Linked DNA regions of Homo sapiens: region 2 is linked to region 1. Evidence: promoter capture Hi-C in 16 types of primary human blood cells and fetal thymus (Javierre and others, 2016). All regions are on one chromosome and are shown on one strand. Each heading gives the region's core, a stretch centred on a gene start or on the middle of the fragment in contact. The rest is flanking DNA. Distances are from core to core; before and after follow the strand shown. Region 1 holds the start of APLN (apelin). Region 2 has its middle 29 kb from the start of UTP14A.

Region 1 (5,054 bases), core at 714-3,213:
TGCCAATGACACCAGATGGTAGGCTCCCTGAGGATAGGCTGGTATGGTGTATCATTCGTATCTTACATTCGTATCTTTTGCTCCCTCTGTTACCTGCCTGACAGGAGTTTCTGTGGAAAAAGCCTACCCACTTCTTACTGTGGTGGTGGCTCACTTCGTGTTCAGGTCTTGAATAGAGAAATCACCGGCCAGCTACCTGGAGGCAGGAGGTGCCAGCCCCAACCACTGCACCTTTCTGAGAAGCCAGGCAGTGTTCCCAGAGCCACAGCAGGGCCAAAAAGCAAGAGCAGAGAAAGGAGGTGGCCTGCGATGAGAGGCAGGCAGAGCTGGCTGGGCCCCTCGGAGGCTCCTGGGCTGCATGCCATCCTCCTGTTCTGGAGGGTTTGGAACCACTTAGGGCCCTGTGCCCTTGCCCCAGGAAACTCACTGCCCTGCCTTCTCCTTCTTTCTGCTCCCACCTCCCTGTGACTCCAGCCATGGTCCTGGCGTTAGTCCACCTGGTCTTGGCCTTCCCCTTGTGTGGTGCCAGGCAGGCAGCAATGACAGCCAGATCATAGGACTGTGGCAGCTGGAGGTGGGAGCTGGCAGCCCCAGGAGACATTGACACAGAGGACAGGCAGCCTGGGATGGGGCTGCTGGGGCGTGGTTGGGGACCAGGCTAGGGGCGGACATGGGCACTAGTGCCAAGTATTGGCAGGTGAGGGCAAAAGGACTCCCCTTTCCTGAGCTGCAGGGAGGGGTCGGGTCAGGTGCTGTGCTTCCTCCTTTGGTGCCTAGCGGCAGGGAGACTAAAGTGAAGCATGTCCGTGCCTGGGACAGAAAGGAAGGCTGGAGCCAGGATGTAAGAGAACCAAGTCTCTGGGGGTGGGATGGAGGCTATGGGGAGGGCATCCTGTGCAGGGGAGGAGACCAGCCAGGACCTTGGGGTTAGGGAGGAGAAGACCAGCCCAGCCCGGCTGGGCCCGGCCCTGCCTGGGGGAGGCTGCCTCTGCTCACACATGCAGGCCGAAAGGAGCAACAGCTGGGCTCCATGCCGCCACCCCCTCCGCGCACTCCTGCCTATGCAACAAGTGTCACGTCTGCATGTTGGCACATCATCCCCGGTTTCCCGCGCCCCTGGACTGGCGGGAGGCTCCCAGCCTTCAGGGACCAGAAGACGTTCAACATGGGAGCCCAGCCCACTCGACTCTGGTCAGTTCCTTCCATCGATCCACGAGGGAGCGGGCATGTCCCCCGCCTCCACCTCTACCACGCGGGGTGCAGGGCGTGGGACACGCGGCGCACACCTGTGGTCCTGAGCTCCTGGGACTGCGAGCGACGGTTAGGAGGGACAAGGTGACGGGCAGGTGATGCCAAAGGCCGAGTTGAGCCCCGCAAAAGAAGCAGTCCTTGTGGCCAGCCGCCCCATGGCTCGGGGCGCTCTGTCAATCTGCTGCCTGGCGCTGGCCGGCGCGTGGCTGCTACTGCACGGCTCGCGCCGGGCTCCCCGGGAGGCGGGGAGAGTGCGAATAGGGCGGAGGGAAAGGAGCACGCCGGCTGCAGCCCGGGCGAGCGGGAGGGCGCGCACTCACCTCCACACACCGCGGTCAAGGAGAGCCAGAGCAGCAGGAGCGCCTGCACGCAGAGCCGCAGATTCATGCTGCTCCTTGGGCCGCCGCGGCCCCGGCGAGCCGGCGCGGGGGAGGAGAGGTCGGGCGCCCGGAGGCCAAGAAAGGCGCGAGCCGCGGCTGGCGCGTGCGGGCGCAGAGCTCGGGAGGCTCCCCGGCCGCTGAGTGTGCGCGCTGAGCCCCGCCGCTCCCGCTGGCCGCCTCCGCTCTTCTGCAGCCTCCTCTCCCGCCGCGGGGCAGCGCCGCGAAGCTGGCCTCGGCGGCTCCGGGAGCGGCAGCGGCGAGCTCTTTCTTAGCGGCTGGCTGCTCGGCCGCGGCTGCAACTGCCCGTGACCCCGGCTGCCAGAGAGAATGCTCCCCGCTCACTCCAGGGGCTGCATTTTGTAGCTTGTGGCTTGGCCGCGAGCCCACTTGGTCATGTGGTCATCGGGAGGGCTAGAGGGGGGGCAGGAAGAGGGAGAGGGAGCGAGCCTCCCGCACCGCCCCCCTCCAGGCACGCACTCTGCAGCCCCAGCCCGAGCGTGAGCGCGAGAGGGAACCCCGAGGTGGCCCCACAACAAAGGCTGCGCGGCCTCTCTGACAACCTACAACCGCTCCCCGGACAATGCCCGCCTGGCCGGGGGCCAGAGGGTTTGCAGAGACCTGAAGGATTTCAAACACAGGAAGCATTTGGGGCGGTGGAGGGGCACACTTAACCCTTTCTCACCTTGCTTCCTTAACAGCTGTCAGGAAACCTGGGCGCTTAGGGAAGGACTCAGTCTGGGTTGCCTTCACTCACGCCCTCTACCTCTGACCCTGGTCCTTGCCCTTGCCGCTGGCCAGCTTCAAGGGTTTGGTCAAGACAACCAAACACTGGCCCTCCTCTCTCCTCTGCATTTTCAACTGGCTTTGAATTGGGGGTGACTGCCTAGGCTTGTGCCCAAGGCTTGATTAATTGCCCAGGCCCCTCATGTTCCCTGCATCCCCCAGGAGGCACCCTCTACCTGGAATGCCCCCACCCCACCCTTCCGTGAGCAATTCATTCTTTGCAGCAGCACCTCAAATCCCATCGCATCCAGAAGCCTTCTCAGGATAACACTAATCCAGCAGGGGCCGCCCATCAGCTCCTCCCCACTGTTGGGACATGGGACAGCTCCTATGGTCTACCCTTTCTTGTTCCCTGGAGCTGTCCTCATTCTAGTTCCCCATCAACGTAAGAGGCAGGTGGTTTACCCAACTCCACACAGTCAAGGCTGGATTCATTTTGCGTGTACTTGCGATTCCGCTTTAGAAGCGGGTCCTGAAGTTGTTTGCCTTTCCAGACTCGATTGTTAGCTGCTTCTATAGCTTGGGAGCTCCCAAGGCATGGGGCTGCTTCCCTCATTGGACTGGGAACCCCCTAAGGTAGGATACTGTCTTCTCACTCTTCTGGATCTCTCCAAAGTCCCCAATATCTTGCTCTGCACATAGGTGGCACTCAACACATATTAAAAGACTGAATCGAAAGGTGTCTCCACCTTTCAGCAAGCCAGGCAGTTTGCTTGAAGTGTTAAGTCCAGATTTACACAAAAGATACATTGGACAGGGTGCGTGTGTGCCATAAAAGACATGAGAGACCATGGCATATTTAAAATATCTTTGAAATGTTGCAAAAATCCTATATATACACAATGTATTTATTATCAGTCTCTCTCCACCAGAAGGGTTACCTCCACAAGGGAGGGATCTTTGCTTTGTTCACAGCTGTGTCCCCAGACCTAGAACAGTACCTGCGACATGACTGGTACTCAATACATAATTTTGAATATATAAATGAAATTTTCAAAAACATCTTTACTGCCTAAATTCAGGTAGCAGGAAGGGAATAAGATAAGGTTCTCATTAATAGCCTATGGCCCATTAACCACACTCAAGTAAAAAAAAAAAGCATGTGAAGCATGGCACCCCTCTTCATCCTTGAGACCCAGGATATGAGTAGCAGACATGGGTAGCAGGAGACCATTCTCCCTTCACTGTTCCCCTGGAAAGAGTTTGCTTTCTTTCTCTTTTCTTTTTCTTTTTTTCTTTTTTCTTTCTTTCTTCTTTTTTTTTTTTTTTTTTTTGAGACCGAGTTTTGCTCTGTCGCTCAAGCTGGAGTGCAATACCCTATCTCAGCTCACTGCAACCTCCGCCTCCCAGGTTCAAGCGATTCTCCTGCCTCAGCCTCCTGAGTAGCTGGGATTACAGGCATGCGCCACCATGCCCGACTAATTTTGTATTTTTAGTAGAGACGGGGTTTCACCAGGTTGGTCAGGCTGGTCTCGAACTCCTGACCTCAGATGATCCACCCGCCTCGGCCTCCCAAAGTGTTGGGATTACAGGCGTTAGCCACCACGCCTGGATGGAAAGCATTTTCTAACCAGGAGGAGAAACACCTGGCTTCTAGTCTCCACCCTCATTTGCTGTAGGGCCTTGCCATCATCACCTAAACTTACTGGGGTTCATGGAGGTGATAATCTCTGCTCTACCCACTTCAAAGTTGTTATGGGATTAAGTGAGATAATGTGCCTGAAGGTACCGTGCAAATTAAGAATAAGCTCTTGCAGGGTTGTTTTTAGGAAACTTGGTGCTCCAATCCTTGATTGGGCAAGCCCATGCACACCCAAATAAGTGTCCCCCATAACTAGGTTAATAGAAGCCTTCATATTTAATTGCACCTTTACTAGGGTGTGTATGGCATATTGCTAAGTGGTTGGAACACATAGCGCTTTCTAATACAATAGCCACTAATCATATTTCCAATGAAGTTTAAAATTCAGTTCCTCAGTTCCACTGGCCACGCTTCAATTGCCTATATGTGGCTAGTGGCTACTGTATTGGACAGCACAGAATAGAATCTTCAATCACTGCAGAAAGTTCTATTGGTTAGAGCATTCATTCATTCTTCTTTTTTCTATAATCCATTTTCCCACCCTACCTAGCCTTCAAAATGTACAAGGTGAGGGGAAAAAAAGCATAAAAGCAAACCAATAGAAATTCAAGCCAAGCTGAAGGCATGCGTTTAGAGTAAGATTTAAAGATCTGACACTTGGGAGAATCATTTTTTAATTGAATCCTTCTCTTCATTTAACCAAATTACATCCATTTTTTTTTAGAGGCAGGGTCTTGCTCTGTTACCCTAGGCTGAAGTGCAGTAGTGCAATCACAGCCCAATGCAGGCTCAAACTTCTAGGCTCAAGTGATCCTCCCACCTCAGCCTCCCAAGTAGCTGGGACTACAGACATGCACCACCATACCAGGCTAATTTTTAAATTTATTTATATTTTTTGTAGAGACTGAGTCTTACTATGTTTCTCAGGCTGGTCTTAAACTCCTGGTCTCAAGCAATCCTCCCATCTCGGCCTCCCAAAGTGCTGGGATTACAAGTGTGAGTCACCATGCCTGGCCACATCTGTTTTCGTAGTCCCAGATCCAAGATTTCATCTTTCT
Region 2 (5,054 bases), core at 790-3,289, 220 kb after region 1:
GTCAGAACTCAAGAGTTATGGATGGCCCTCACCATACTTACACTTTCTGACTGAGCTCCTCTCTACCCTGAATACAAGAGACCCTAATAGGTAGGCAGGAGTATCATTGCCCAATTCAGCCTGAAGAAGTTACGGAAGATGGATCTTTGTCCCTCTATAACCCTTAAGATTAAGGGTTCCTGGCCAGATGCGGAGGCTCACACCTGTAATCCCAGCACTTTCGGAGGCCGAGGCGGGTGAATCACCTGAGGTCACGAGTTTGACACCAGCCTGGCCAACATGGCAAAACCCCATCTCTACTAAAAATACAAAAATTAGCCAGGCATGGTGGCACGCACCTGTAGTCCCAGCTACCTGGCAGGCTGAGGCAGGAGAATCGCTTGAACTCGGGAGGGGAAGGTTGCAGAGGGCCAAGATCGCGCCACTGCACTCCAGCCTGGGTGACAGAGCAAGCCTCCATCTCAAAAAAATAAATAAATAAATAAATAAAATAATAATAATAATAAAAGATTAAGGATTCCTTTGTAAAACGCAGGGGAGAAATATGTCAGAGGTGTTCAAACCAGAGTGCCTCCATCCTGAATAGGGGCTGGGTAAAATGAGGCTGAGACCTACTGGGCTGCATTCCCAGGAGGTTAAGCATTCTAAGTCACAGGATGAGATAGGAGGTTGGCACAAGATACAGGTCACAAAGACCTTGCTGATAAAACAACATGTGGTAAAGAAGCAGACCAAATCCCACCCAAACGAAGATGGTGAGGAAAGTAACCTCTGGTCATCCTCACTGCTCATTATATGCTAATTATAATACATTAGTATGCTAAAAGACACTCCCACCAGCACCATGACAGTTTACAAATGCCAAGGCAATGTCAGGAAGTTACCATTTATGGTCTAAAAGGTGGAGGAACCGTCCGTTCCAGGAGTTGCCCACCACTTTCCCGGAAAACTCATGAAAAACCCGCCACTTGTTTAGCATGTAGTCAAGAAATAACCACAAAAATAGCCAACCAGCAGCCCTCAGGGCTGCTCTGCCTATGGAGTAGCCATTCTTTTATTCCTTTACTTTAATAAATTTGCTCTCACTTGGAAAAAAATCATACATTACCACACCCACATTGGGGAGAGACCCATCCTATGTGAAATCTGTGGACAAGCTTTTTCTACCAAAGGCAACGTAAAGACACTTCTCAGGGTTCATGGAACCAACTCATCCATAAGTACATACCCCATTAGTCAAAAGAAATTTGCCAGTGTGGTCATGTTGCAACAACATATTTGGATGAACATGGGCACTCAGATTCCCAGCATGTCCCCGCCAGAGAATCCCTGTGATTTTAGGGGTCCTGAGCCAATGATGGTCAGTGAGAATGGTAATACAAGTGCCATCTGCCATGATGATGTTGAAAGAAGACACCACTGTGGATAAAGTCAGCTCCCAGGATGCCCCCAGTAGCTACTCAAAGGTCCTCACACCTCTTCTTAGCATCCACTTAATATAACCCACCCTAGGGTTTGCCACAAAGGCTTCCCTAGCAGTCACCAGGAAAGTGGGTCCTGTTCCTTCTGGCCTGCAGAGGCAGAGCAGCTGAAAAACGATTCAGTGGAGAGCAACAGTTTAATGACTCATTCTCACTGATGGGACACCAGGACTATTAGCCAAACTCCAGATGCTGTGGAAACCACATCCTTCCAGGCACGCTCCCTAGCAACTAGCCAAGCAGAAAGCATTATGACAAAGTCTCCAGATGCTGGGAGCAAAGCTGAGCACCCCAAGAACAGCCACACTGAGATGGGCTGTCTCCCATCAACGTTTTTCTGAGCCCAGTCAACATATGTCAAAGTTCAAGTTTTAACAGGTTTGGTGGCTAGCGCTTGTAATTCCAGCTACTAATGAGGCTGGGGCAGGAGGATCACTTGAGCCCAGGAGTTCAAGGTTGTGGTAAACTATGACTGTGCCACTGCACTCCAGCCTGTGCGAAAAGGAGAGACCCTGTCTCTAAAAAATAAAAATGAAAAGTTGAAGTTCCTGGTAATACAAATAGGAGACAGGGAAATACTGGACAGAAGAGGGCAGTTCCCCAGCAAAGGCCCCACCCTCAAGCCTGGATATCCACAGCCCTAAGTGAGAACAGGCATTCCTGTTTTTGTGCCGAAAATGTTGCCTTTTGGCCCATCACGCCCCCATCCTGTACCCATATAAACCCCAAACCCGAGGCTCCAGAAGCAGGAGATGAGGAGATGAGCAGACAAATGGCAGAATGGCACGGCACAGGAGAGAAGAGAAGAAACGTCAGGAGTTTTGCTGGGGGTGGTCAGAGAATCAGCCACCAGATGGCCAAACTGCAAGGGAAGATCATCTTCCCACTCCATCCCCTGTCCAGCTCCTCATCTATCCCACTGAGAGCCACCTCCACCACCCAATAAAACCCTGCATTCTCCATCCTTCAAGTCCATGTGTGACCTGATTCTTCCAGGATTCTGGACAACAGCTCAGGATACAGAAAACTGTCACACTGGCCCTCTGCCTTTGCAGAAAGGCAGAGGGTCCACTGAGCTGATTAACACTTAAGCCATCTGCAGATGGCAAGGCTAAAAGAGTGCACTGTAACACACGCCCACTTGGGCTCCTGCACCTGTCTGTCTGTGTACTCCCCCTCCTGTAAGAGGTTTGAGCAGCGACCAAACAGACAAGCCACACCCATCACACGTCCTGTGAGGGGGGCCAGGGAACTCTCCCCTTTCACTGGCACATTTGTTGGATCCTCAATCATGTCCCTGGTGTTAGCGGCCCAGCCACACTGACAGGCCAAGCAACACAGCTGCACACAGTGTGAGAAGAACTTCTTATCCACTAGTGCTCTTCAGATTCACAAGTGGACTCACACTAGAGAATAGCCTTTTGTGTGCAGCATACATGGGCAAGCTTTTACCACCAAAGGCAACTTGAAGGTCCACTGTATGACTCATGGAGCAAACAATAACTCAGCACACCAGAGAAGGAAGCTAGCCATTGAGAACACTATGGCTTAATTAGGTATGAATGGAAAGAATCTCAGAAATGTTTACTGGAAATCCTGGCCCCTTCAGTGAAGGTGGTGGAACCAATATACCAACATGCTCAACAGTGGTCTTGCCATGAAGACTAGCGAGATCTCTATGACCCAGAGTGGTGGTGTTCCCACCCTCCCAGTTTCTGTGGGGGCCAACTCTGCTGTGAATAACACTGCTGAGTCCAAGATGGATGGCTCCCAGTCAGGTATCAGTGCCAATGTGGAAAAACCAGGTGCTACTGAGACTGTTCCCACACATTGGTTCCCTCACTTCCTGGAAGAAAACAAGATTGTGGTCAGCTAAGCTAAAGGGGAACTTGCCTGGAAGAAGAAATGTAGACAGAGTGAAATGTCTAGACCATGCTTGTTCAACCCTCAGCCCGCAGGCCACATGCAGCCCAGGGCGGCTTTGAATGTGGCCCAACACAAATTCGTGAAGTTTCTTAAAACATTCTGAGATTTTTTTGTGATTTTTTTTTTAAGCTCATCGGCTATTGTTAGTATTCGTGTATTTTATGTGTGGCCCAAGACAATTCTTCTTCCAAGGTGGCCCAGGGAAGCCAAAAGATTGGACACCCCTAGTCTAGACTGTGCTTTTTATTCTTTTATTATTTTTTATTTGTATAAATTTATGGGGTGCAAGTGTAATTTTGTTACCTGCATAGATTGTGTAGTGGTGAAGTCAGGGCTTTTAGGGTATTGATCACCCAAATAACCTACAATGTACCCCTTAAGTAATCACTCATTATCCACCCCTTGCCTTACCCTTCCAAGTCTCTGTTGTCTATCATTCCACACACTACCTCCGTGTGTACACTTTATTTAGCTCCCACTTATAAGTGAGAACATGTGATATTTGTCTTTCTGTGCCTGGCTTGTTTCACCAAAGTTAATGGCCTCCAGTTCCATCCATGTTGCTGCAAAAGACATGATTGCATTTTTTTATGGCTGCATAGTATTCCATGATGTATACATACCACAGTTTCTTTATCTAATCCTCCGTTGATGGACACTTAGGTTGATTCCTTATCTTCGCTATTGTGAATAGTGCTGTGATAAACATACTATTGCAGGTGTCTTTTTGATATAATGATTTATTTTTCTTTGGGTAGATACCCGGTAGTGGGATTGCTGGATGGAAAGTAGTTGCATTTTTCGTTCTTTGAGAAATCTCCATACAGTTTTCCATAGAGGTTACACTAATTTACATTCCCACCAACAGTGTATAAGAGTTCATTCCCTTTTCTCCCCATCCTCACTAACATCTGTTAGTTTTTCTCTTTTTAATAATAGCCATCTGACTAGTGTAAGATGGTTTATCATTGTGGTTTTAATTTGCACATCTCTGATGATTAGCGATGTTGAGCATTTTTTCATGTCCGTTGGCCACTTGTCTTCTTTTGAGAAATGTCTATTCATGTCCTTTGCCCACTTTTTAATGGGATTATTTGTTTTCTTTTTTTTAAAAAAAAAACCCATCTCCTCCTCCCGTTTTCCTTATTCTTACTGATATGCAAATGATGTTTACAGATGGCAATCTCAGGCAGTTCTACAATCACAATTGTTATGCTGCTTTGCAAAACATAAAAACAAAAAAATCAAAAAAAGAAAATATCTATACCAAAACAAATACAGACTATAATTATTTTTTAATTTTGGAAAGAAGCAAGTCTTGAAAGTAGCTTTGTTACTTCCAACAAACTATATACATAGAAATTCTGTACAGCCTACAGTAACTACTTCCCAAGACTGTCGCCTATTTCAAGGTGGAACAGTTTGAACTTATTGAACCACAGTGGAAAAGACAACTACTTAGATTAATGGGGTGAGGAGGAGTACTGTATACTTCCATGATAACTGTCTGCAAGTAAATGGACAAGGTTATCATCTATTTAGGAACCTGTTTTGTATGTCTCCTAACCCTGTACCCATCTTTTGTTTTTTGAAAGTACTTTCAAAAATAAAGCAAAAAAAAAGATTATAGAATTACAAATTCCTCCA

The links. Contacts are between HindIII fragments. The CHiCAGO score rates a contact against its expected background, and 5 or more counts as called.
Region 2: a fragment that was not itself captured here is called in contact with the fragment with the promoter of APLN in region 1 in 9 of 17 cell types (non-activated CD4 T cells, activated CD4 T cells, naive CD4 T cells and 6 more); the score reaches 11.9 in non-activated CD4 T cells.

The regions. Positions count from the first base shown.
Region 1 is chrX:129,652,993-129,658,046 of GRCh38, forward strand. APLN (apelin) reads right to left here and starts at 1,964. Exons shown (of 3, transcript NM_017413.5): 1 at 1,572-1,964. The coding sequence starts at 1,638. RefSeq lists enhancers at 1,236-1,295, 2,988-3,077, 3,088-3,147 and silencers at 1,586-1,635, 1,726-1,805. The HindIII fragment of the contact is 20,761 bases long and covers 1-5,054 here.
Region 2 is chrX:129,874,217-129,879,270 of GRCh38, forward strand. It overlaps the pseudogene SALL4P2. Among named protein-coding and RNA genes, the nearest start is that of UTP14A, 29 kb to the right of the region's middle. The HindIII fragment of the contact is 1,769 bases long and covers 1,156-2,924 here.